2 separate regions of the Homo sapiens genome follow, and region 2 is linked to region 1. The links are contacts of gene promoters, found by promoter capture Hi-C in human tissues and cell types (Jung and others, 2019). All regions are on one chromosome and are shown on one strand. The core of a region is centred on a gene start or on the middle of the fragment in contact, and the rest is flanking DNA. Distances in the headings are between cores, read along the strand shown. Region 1 holds the start of SHMT1 (serine hydroxymethyltransferase 1). Region 2 overlaps ALKBH5 (alkB homolog 5, RNA demethylase).

Region 1 (3,817 bases), core at 822-3,321:
TCCTGGCTAACACAGTGAAACCCTGTCTCTACTAAAAATATAAAAAATTAGCCGGACATGGTGGCGGGCGCCTGTAGTCCCAGCTACTCGGGAGGCTGAGGCAGGAGAACGGCGTGAACCTGGGAGGTGGAGATTGCAGTGAGCGAAGATCGAGCCACTGCACTCATGCCTGGGCGACAGAGCGAGACTCCGTCTCAAACAAACAAACAAAAAGAACAATTAGCTGGGCATGGTGGTGCACGCCTGTAGTCCCAGCTACTCGGGAAGCCGATGCAGGAGAATTGCTTGAACCAGAGAGGCAGAGGTTGCAGGGAGCCAAGATCGCATCACTGCACTCCAGCCTGGGTGACAGAGCGAGACTCCATCTCAAATAAATAAATAAATAAAACAAAAACAAAAAACAAAAACACTCACTATGTTGGCCAGGCGCAGTGGCTCTTGCCTGTTATCCCAGCACTTTGGGAGGCCGAGGAGGATGGATCACTTGAGATCAGGAGTTCAAGACCAGCCTAGCCAATATGGTGAAACCCTATCTCTACTAAACATACAAAAATTAGCCGGGTGTGGTGGCTCACGCCTGTAATCCTAGCACTTTGGCAGGCTGAGGCAGGTGGATCACAAGGTCAGGAGATCAAGACCATCCTGGCTAACATGGTGAAACCCTGTCTCTACTGAAAATACAAAAAATTAGCCAGGCGTGGTGGTGGGCTCCTGTAGTCCCAGCTACTCGGGAGGCTGAGGCAGGAGAATGGCATGAACCCAGGAGGCAGAGCTCGCAGTGGGCCTAGATCGCGCCACAGCACTCCAGCCTGGGCAAGAGAGGGAGACTCCGTCTCAAAAATAAAAAAAAATTAGCCAGGCGTGGTGGCGGAGGCCTGTAGTCCCAGCTACTCAGGAGGCTGAAGCAGGAGAATGACGTGAACCCGGGAGGTGGAGCTTGCAGTGAGCCGAGATCGCGCCACTGCACTCCAGCCTGGGCGACAGAGCAAGACTCTGTCTCAAAAAAAAAAAAAAGTTTTTTTTGTATTTTTTGTTTGTTTGTTTTTCGAGATGATGAGGGTCTCACTCTGTTGCCCAGGCTGGAGTACAGAGGCAAGATCATTGCTTACTGCAACCTCTGCCTCCCAGGCTCAAGTGATCCTCCCATTCAGCCCCCCAAGTAGCTGGGACTACAGGCGACTGCCACCACACCCAGCTAATTTTAAAATTATTTGTAGAGACAAGGTTTCACCATTTTGCCCAGGCTGGTCTTGAACTCCTAGGCTCAAGCCATCTGCCTCGGCCTCCCAAAGTGCTGGAATTACAGGGGTGAGCCACTGCGCCCGGTTTTTATCATTCTTATAATAATTATTGTTATCATTTGACAAATAAAAAAATTTATGACGCAGCCTCAGGTGGTCCTGACATGTGGCCCCGGTTTTTATCATTCTTAACAATAGGTAATGTTCATTGAGTCCTTATTGTGTGTCAGTATTTTATTTATCTTATTTTATTCTTCTTGAGACGTTGTCTCGCTCCGTCCCCCAGGCTGGAGTGCAGTGGCGCGATCTCGACTCACTGCAACCTCCGCCTCCTGGGAGGCAACATAGTTAGACCCCCATCTCTACTTCAACCTGGGGGACAGAGTGAGACCCTGTCTCAAAAAAATAAAAATAAAAAATAACAAAAATAATAATAATAAAGTGTCTGCTCTTGGATTATACACCTACAGAGTAATAATGTTGCAGTTTGGACGCACATTTGTCCTACTTTAAATGACCACCCTGCAAACTAAAAGTAGTACCATGAACAAAATTCACTCATAATCCCACGGCCCAAGCGACAGGCTTAAGTGAGGAAGGCCCTGTGTAGTCTTCCTGGAAATCTTGGTCCACACACCAGCCCTGCAGCCAAAGCGGGTCAGTTCTGCAGGTCCCTGCCCCAGGTGCGCAGCTGCACTACGCGGCCTCCGGCCCGCCCCGGAGAAACAGGCCCTGCCCGCCGCTGCGCCGCAGCCAATAGCGCGGGTGCGTTTGGTGGCGGCCCATGCTTGGCTGCGCTCTCTGATTGGGCGCCTCCGGGGGCGGGGCCAAGCCCAAGCCTGGCGCGCAGAGTGCACCTTCCTGAGCTCGAGCGGTCCAGCGCCAAGTTCGGGGTTTGGGGTTGGAGCGGCTGGTCACGTGGCTGGCCCGCGGCGGTGCGCGGGGCGTTGGGTCAGCGGGTCTGGGACTGGTGGCACCGGCGGCGGCGTAGGACGGAGGCGTCGCTAGGTACGTGCGCGGGCCGTGTTCCGGTAGGTGGGCGGCTTCGGGTCCGAGGGCCGCGGCGTCCCAGAGCCCGGGGGGTGCTTCGGCGTCCTCGCTGTCCCCCGCCGTACCCCACCCTCTGCAGCCGCAATGACGGGAGGGGAGCGCTTGGGTCGCGCCTGGGCTGGGGATCGGGCGGCGGCCAGCCGCAGCGCCCCAGTTCCAGGCACATTCGGTATGATGGGGTGGCGGCCCGTGGCCTTTGGCAAGAATGCGAAGGCTTATCGGGGATGTGAGTAGTAGCTCTCCACTGAACACTTTTCTCGTTGAGCATTTTCGATTTAAACAATCCTAGCTCCTTCACAACAAAGCTGCAAGTCAAGTGCTACTGTTTCCCCCATTTTACAGGTGAGGAAGGTGGTGGGGCCCTGAGAAAGGAGGCAACTTAAATGGCAGAGCCCGGAATAGAACCCGGGTTCTCAAAGCCTGCGCCCCTAAAGGCTGCGCGCAGGGTCGCTCCACTTTTGGCCCGTGCCACCAGATCCCTGTGGGGAATGAGCTCTTCCTGTTGCCCGCAATCTGCCACCCCCTGTTCTAGGAGACAAATGTTGCACTGTGAAGTTCTTGGCCCGGTGCCTTGGCTTCGAGATTCCGGGAGTTAAGTGACCCTTGGTCCAGCTGAGGTCAGCACAGATGCGGGCCTTCAATCGGGCAGTTACCCAGAGAATAGACTGGAAACACCAGTTTAGGTTCTTGCAGAAATAACATTGTAGGCCGGGCGCGGTGGCTCATGCCTGTAATCCCAGCATTTTGGGAGGCCGAGGTGGGCGGATCACTTGAGGTTAGTAGTTGGAGACCAGCCTGGCCAACATGGTGAAACCCCGTCTGTACTAAAAATACAAAAAAACCTGGCTGCCCATGGTGGCACACACCTATAATCCCAGCTACTCGGAAGGCTGAGGCAGGAGAATCGCTTGAACCCGGGAGGTGGAGGTTGCAGTGAGCGGAGATCACGCCACTGCACTCCAGCCTGAGTGACAGAGTGAGACTCTATCTCAAAAGAAAGAAAGAGAGAGAAAGAAAAGAAAAAAAAGAAAAGAAATAACGTAAATTTATTACTTGGGGGAACTTGGAACGGAAGTGGGTAATTGTGTTTTTATTTAGTGCAATGTCCTGGGACAAGGCCTTGGAACTGAAGAGAAACCATTGTTCAGATTCTGGCTCTTATATGGCTTTAGACAAGTTAGCTCCCTGGGCCTCAATTTCCTCTTCTGTAAAGAAGAGAACACAAAATGTGTGTGAGATAGAAGATGTGCAACAAGTTAGTTCCCTGAGCAGATCCTTGGCTGGATCCTCTTATGTGACAGAGGCCCAGGTAAGATTTGGAGGCATGGGGAGGCTGGTGACCTTGCAGGTGACTTCACTTACTAGGTCTTTTTCCCTGACGTTGAGGATCATGCCACACATGAGCAACAGTGCCTCTACAGAAATATCCAATGTTGTAATGACTGATGTTGCAGTGAGCTGTGTTGGCTGGGGGACTTACCAGGTATTACTGAATGTTAATGAAGATGTCCCTAAGATTCCCAATT
Region 2 (6,487 bases), core at 781-3,280, 170 kb after region 1:
TAGCTGGGACTACAGGCGCACCCCACCACGCCTGTCTAATTTTTGTTATTTTCAGTAGAGATGGGGTTTCACTATGTTGGTCAGGATGGTCTTGAACTCCTGACCTCGTGATCCGCCAGCCTCGGCCTCCCAAAGTGCTGGGATTACAGGTGTGAGCCACCGCGCCCGGCCCAAACCTTTATTTTATAGATCCACCTTCTCCCTCAAGCTGCTCCTAGACAAGAATTTTTCAAAATTTTCTCCATGAACACCAGTCCCATAAGAGACAGTAGACAGGCTAGGCACGGTGGCTCACGCCTGTAATCCCACCCAGCACTTTGGGAGGCCAAGGTGGGCATGTTGCCTGAGGTTAGGAGTTCGTAACCAGTCTGGCCGACATGGTGAAACCCCGTCTCTACAAAAATACAAAAATAAGCCAGGCATGATGGCAGGTGCCTGTAATTCCAGCTATCGCAGAGGCTGAGGCAGGAGAATCGCTGAACCTGGGAGGTGGAGGTTGCCGTGAGCCGAGATAGTGCCACTGCACTCCAGCCTGGGTGACAGAGTGAGACTCCGTCTCAAAAAAAAAAAAAAAAAAAAAAAGAAAAAGACAGTGGACGAATGTCTACAGTGAAATCAATTTGTAAAATACTGATTAGAGTTTCAAAAAGCATTAATATATTTAAAGCACATGAGAATTACTACAGCAAAAGAACCCACTGACTTTGAGCACTTACCAAAGAACCTTCTCTCATAATACCTATTAATACCCATCAGCCCACAGTGAGAAGTACCACACAGGAGTTAGTGAGTTGAAGAGACCTGGGTTCAAATGTGAGCTTTGTCTCCTACTAGCTTTGTGACCTTTGTTAAATCACATGCTGAACCTAAAAACCTGTACAGTTTCTTCATCTGTAATAAGGAGAACAGTAGGTTCTTGGGTATTCATTTTGTTATGCTTTATAATTTAGCTATTCTTTTGCTGCTACTAATATTACAAGATTTTAAAAATGGGGACAGTTTTAAAGATTACAAGATTAAAGTTTTTAAGATTACAAGATTTTAAAAACGGGGCCTCCTCCCTTCCAGGCAGAAAAACAGCATTATATGACTACTTGGTTGACACTCCTGGAAAGGGGTGGTGAGAGGCCTACCTGCAGGGGTATTGCGAGAATTAAGTCAGATAATGCAGGGTGCCTGACACCCTACAATCTTTACTAAGCACTCTGACAAAAGTCAGAGGGCCCTGGACTATCCTGGGGCAAGCCAGAGCCCTGGATTCAGCATCTGCCAAAGAGACATGGTCTGGGCTCCCCCTGCAGGGATCTGCCAGTAGTGGGGGCCGCCTGGGCCCCATTTCCAGAGCTAGGAACTCTAGTTCTCATCCCATGCTTTTATCATTCCACACTGGGGGAATGGGGGTCTAGACTGCAAGACTGTCCCATATAGACACACAATACTTTCCCAAAGAGCTGTCAAAGGTCTCAAAGGCACTTTTTTTTTTTTTTAAAGACAGAGTCTCACTCTGTTGCCCAGGCTGGAGTGCAGTGGCATGATCTTGGCTCACTGTAACCTCCACGTCCCAGGTTCAAGCAATTCTCCTGCCTCAGACCCCCAAGTAACTGGGACTACAGGCTAATTTTTGTATGTTTAGTGAAGACTGTTTCCCCATGTTGGCCAGGCTGGTCTCGATCTCCTGATCACACGTGATCCACCCACCTCGGCCTCCCAAAGTGCTGGGATTACAAGTGTGAGCCACCATGCTCGGCCCCAGAGGCACGTTTCTAAGTCCTGAATCTGCAGTGCTGGCTACAGGCAACCTTCCCTGCCATTGACAAGTGTTATCAATCTGTTTGACTTGGCTATATGCATAACCAAGGGCCCTGACTTCCCATCTCCAACAAGGAACCACTTTTCTTAATGCAGTTCTGGAGCAAATCCAGATGTTTGTCAAAGCTTGACTGCCCGCATGCTCCCTGACCCCATCCCCCAAAGGGCTCTAGAACAAACAATAAGCCATGTCAGGTTCCTGCCACGGAGCCCAGGCCTTGGAAGAACTAGTATGGAGGTAGGGCTGCACAGGCCCACAAAAATGACTTTGGCACTGACCCAACCTGGAAGGCTTATTAGTACTGGTCTTCTAGAACTTCCTAGCAGCTATGACACAGCCCACTGACCCTTTCCTCAGAATATCCGGCTGCTCTGGCAACATGAGCTCAAAGTCCTGATTAAGGGAAGCTCTCCTGGCCAATCTCACAAAATGTCGAGCAGAGACCACAGGGTATTATTTACTATTAAGGAACCTACTTGCTACAAAATAAATTGTCTGAAAGTCTCAGTCGGCCAGCTTGCAACTTAATATGCCCTTGGGTCCAGCCCTACTGCTGGCATGAAAAGTTCCAGGACCTCCTGCTTTTTTGTTTTCACAGGGAAAGGAGAAGAGGAAATAACCTTATGCCATCTGGCTTGCCTGCTCCCTCTCTGGGCTGAGCCCCCAGCCCCAGCCCCAGAGGCACTGACCAGTATATGTTGCAAATGTCACCCACTAGTCCTATACCTCAGAGTGACTCTCGAAGGAGCTGACATGTCTATCTCCTCTTTTGGGGGCCTTTCCCTGACTGCCCAGGCTGGGTTCCCCCTACATTGCTCAACCACACCCTCTCATGCCTCTTTGCTATTCCATCTGGCCTTGTGGAAATTGTGTCTTCCCTTCAAGACAAAGCTCTTCAAAGGCCTTACTCATCCCTGCACAGTGGACACTAAATGAAATGTGTGTTGAGCTGAACTATTCTACCACTTAGAACCTGTTTCTGCCTCTGCAAAACAAAGATCACAGCAAGCCCCTCCTCAGAAGATTAGGTGCAAATTAAATGAGGTGTCTGAAATTTTTTTTTTTTTTTTTTTTTTCGGAAACAGAGTCCCACTCTGTTGCCTAGGCTGGAATGCAGTGGCGCAATCTTGGCTCACTGCAACCTCTAGCTCCTGGGTTCAAGCAATTCTCTGCCTCAGCCTCCCGAGTAGCTGGGATTACAGGTGCCTGCCACCACGCCCGGCTAATTTTTGTATTTTTAGTAGAGACGGGCTTTCACCATCTTGGCCATTCTTGTCTTGAATTCCTGACCTCAGGTGATCCACCCGCCCTGGCCTCCCAAAGTGCTGGGATTACAGGCATGAGCCACCGCACCTGGCCCTGAAAAATTCTTTAAAGAAACTATGCAGGACTGTACATCTCTCCTCTAGGGGACGGTCTTGGAAACTGAGTTGTTATGACACATTTCCAAGATGGCCACCATTTTCCATCTACTCCATGCCCTGCCTAGGCCAGGATGAACCAGAGATGGAGGGACTGTCCAAGATCCCAGCCTGGTGACTGTCTCTCTCCAGCTATGGCTACCTGCCTTACTGACAGACCCACAGGACCAAGAAGGTCAGGCTTTTGGGGGCAGCAGACCAGCCACCTGGACCCAGGGGCAGGATTGTGAGCTCAGGCTCAATTATTTACCAGACCCAAGCCTCCAAGACGACCCATGGCCTAACTTTATAAGAAGTCCTGGGGCTTTCTGAATCCAGAGGGAAGGTCAACCTGCCAAGTCCCAATTCTGTACACACCAAGATAGACAGTACTAAACACAGAAGGTAGCCCATCTCCTGAGACACTTTTAGCTAAATTTCAAGCATTCAATAGATGACAAAGATTCAACTTTCTATAACAACTCTATAGCATCATTAGACTGGTTTTGCAGATGAGGAAAACTGAGGCCTCAAAAAGCTTAATTTCCCCGAAGTCAACGAGTTAAAATGGTGGTGCTGTAACTCCAACCAAGTCTGCTGTCAAACTTTCTGGATTTTGTTGTGGAGGCGGTAGGAAGAAAAGCCCATCTGTGTTTCCTGGTAGCAAGCCTGTCCAGGGGGCCTTGCTGGCCTCACCAAAGGGCACACGTACACCCACTAGCCCCATGAAAGAGATTTGCAGAGATGAACCTATATCCCCCAGAGAGCTAGCACTGTATCAGTGAAGGCTATCCACCAACTGGCCAGCCAGCTCTGAATTTTCTTTTTCTTTTTTTTGAGACGGAGTCTTGCTCTGTCGCCCAGGCTGCCAGGCTGGAGTTCAGTGGCATGATCTCGGTTCACTGCAAGCTCCGCCTCCCGGGTTCGTGCCATTCTGCCGCCTCAGCATCCCAAGTAGCTGGGACTACAGGCGCCCGCCACCACACCCAGCTAATTTTGTTTTTTGTATTTTTAGTAGAGACAGGGTTTCACCATGCTAGCCAGGATGGTCTCGATGTCCTGACCTCGTGATCCACCCACCTCGGCCTCCCAAAGTGCTGGGATTACAGGCGTGAGCCACCGCGCCCGGCCTTGAAATTTTTTTTTTTATTATTTTTTTTGAGACGGAGTCTCACTCTACAGCACAGGCTGGAGCGCAAGGGCTCGATCTCGGCTCATTGCAACCTCCGCCTCCCGGGTTCAAGTGATTCTCCTGCCTCAGCCTCCTGAGTAGCTGGGATTAGAGGTGCACACTACCATGCCCGGCTAGTTTTTGTATTTTTAGTAGAGATGGGGTTTTACCATGTTGGCCAGGTTGGTCTCAAACTCCTGACCTCATGATCCGTCCACCTTGGCCACCCAAAGTTCTGGCATTACAGGCATGAGCCACTAAGCCTGGCCAGCTCTGAAATTTTTATGGCCTATTTATTCTCTGCTTGCTCTGAGCTTCATGATTAACACCATGGTTCACTGTTAGCTTCCTTTCTTTTACTGCCCTCTGCCTTGTCAGGCTCTGGCAGCAGCAAGGGCAGCCAACCCCCCTGGCCCAGAGCTCCTCCTGACGGTGCACAGCCCTGACTTCATCCTGTGGTTCCTCCCCCTCCAGTGGAATCAGAAGAGTCCACACAAGAGATGTGGCCCAGGACCTATCTGCCCTACTTTCCCAACTATTTTAAGCCAGAAAGCTAAATTTTGCTTTCAACCAGCTGAACAAGATCAGACTATCCCAGAACTGACAGGGGTGCCCACTCCACCCAATACCAACCGTTAACTGGAAGAGTCACAGGCTGAGCTCACCAGTGCATGCCCCGTGCCTGGGTGATACAGTCATTTCCAGACGGCTGGCCTAGGCCTGGGTCTCTGGGCATGTGGCCACCACACCACAGACCACGTAGCAGTGATTAAAGATAGCAGCAAGTAAGCAATTAGCCTTGAAGTAATTATTCTAATTAGTCCAATCAGAGTCTGTTTTAATCTGCCCCATGCAGCCAACAGGGAATAGGAGAATGAATGACAGATAAAGTGATATGAAGATAAAAAATATTTCCCTAAAGTACAGCCTTAAGAGGGGATCCACCCAGGCCTAACATGGGAAGGTTACAAAAAACAACTGACGACTAGGTTTGGAAAGGAGTTTGAAGCACTTCCAGAAGATTCTGTGAGGCCTTGTTCTAAATGCCCAGGTTTAGACACTGCTGAGTCAATGTTTGTGACGCACCAACATCCATGCTGATCACTATTAAATATAAAATTGTATTCTTGCCATGCGGTCTTAGAGGGGTACAGATACCATTGCCACCAACACCAACTGAAGTCTAAGATGCCTACTACTAGAATCCCTCCCCATCTGCACCGCACCACTGTTTTCACCAGCCCCTCCCTTCCAATCTGCAGCTTTACTGCTCATCACCTCTGGGCTAGGATCTGTACCAGGAAAAGAGAAAGCACCACTTCTTACCAGTTTATATGCAGGATTTGACGACGGGCACTACTAATAGGCAGGTGTTCACCCACCTGCATACCAAGGTAAGCTAAGTATGCAGGTGCAAGAAGATTTAATTAGTGGAAGGGTCCAGACCCTAGAGCAGTGACTCTCAACTAAGGATTCTGCACTTCCCCTGCCTCGGCATTTGGCAGTGTCTGGACACTTTCTGGTTGTCATAAAAAACACTATTGGCACCTAGCAGATAGAAGCCAGGAATGCTGCTGAACAGTCTACAATGCACGAACAGCCTCAACAATGAAGCATTATCAAGCCCTGAATAACAATAGCACTGTTGAGAAGCCCTGATCTAGAGTTCACCAGAGCACCCTCAACCACAGTCTCTACTAATGAACTCCATCTGCCTCCCATCAACATCCACCCCCTCTTACCTATGGCTACTCCTGCTACTGCAGCCAAAGACACTGCTGTTGTGTATTTCTCCACCTTTCTCTGCTTGGCTCATTCCTAGTCACTTTTCACATTCCAGTTCATTTCCTCCCCTAAACTTCCAACACTCCAAAGTGGAAAAGATGTCCCCCTTCAGTGTGCTTCTGCAGTTACCTTCCTGGGCTATAACTTATCCTCCTGTCTGAGGCCTCCATGGGGCTTGAACTACACGAAGGGAAACTGTCATGTTTCAGGCTCCACCAAATCCCTAGTTCCTTCCCCAGTGAGAGAGCAGGGGATCACTGAGTGGTTGTATATGAAAGCAAGCACCCATTTAAGTACCTACCCTGTGCCAGGCCCTATCTT

The links. The method cuts DNA at HindIII sites, captures the fragments that hold promoters and counts their contacts. A contact is called where the count stands out against the background at its distance.
Region 2: a contact is called between a fragment that was not itself captured here and the fragment with the promoter of SHMT1 in region 1, in 1 of the 25 tissues and cell types used here (heart left ventricle).

Annotation. Positions count from the first base shown.
Region 1 is chr17:18,361,804-18,365,620 of GRCh38, reverse strand. SHMT1 (serine hydroxymethyltransferase 1) reads left to right here and starts at 2,071. Exons shown (of 12, transcript NM_004169.5): 1 at 2,071-2,249. RefSeq lists a silencer at 1,977-2,446. The HindIII fragment of the contact is 16,638 bases long and covers 1-3,817 here.
Region 2 is chr17:18,186,950-18,193,436 of GRCh38, reverse strand. All of the region lies in intron 1 of ALKBH5 (alkB homolog 5, RNA demethylase), which reads right to left. Among named protein-coding and RNA genes, the nearest start is that of ALKBH5, 6.4 kb to the right of the region's middle. The HindIII fragment of the contact is 6,402 bases long and covers 1-5,231 here.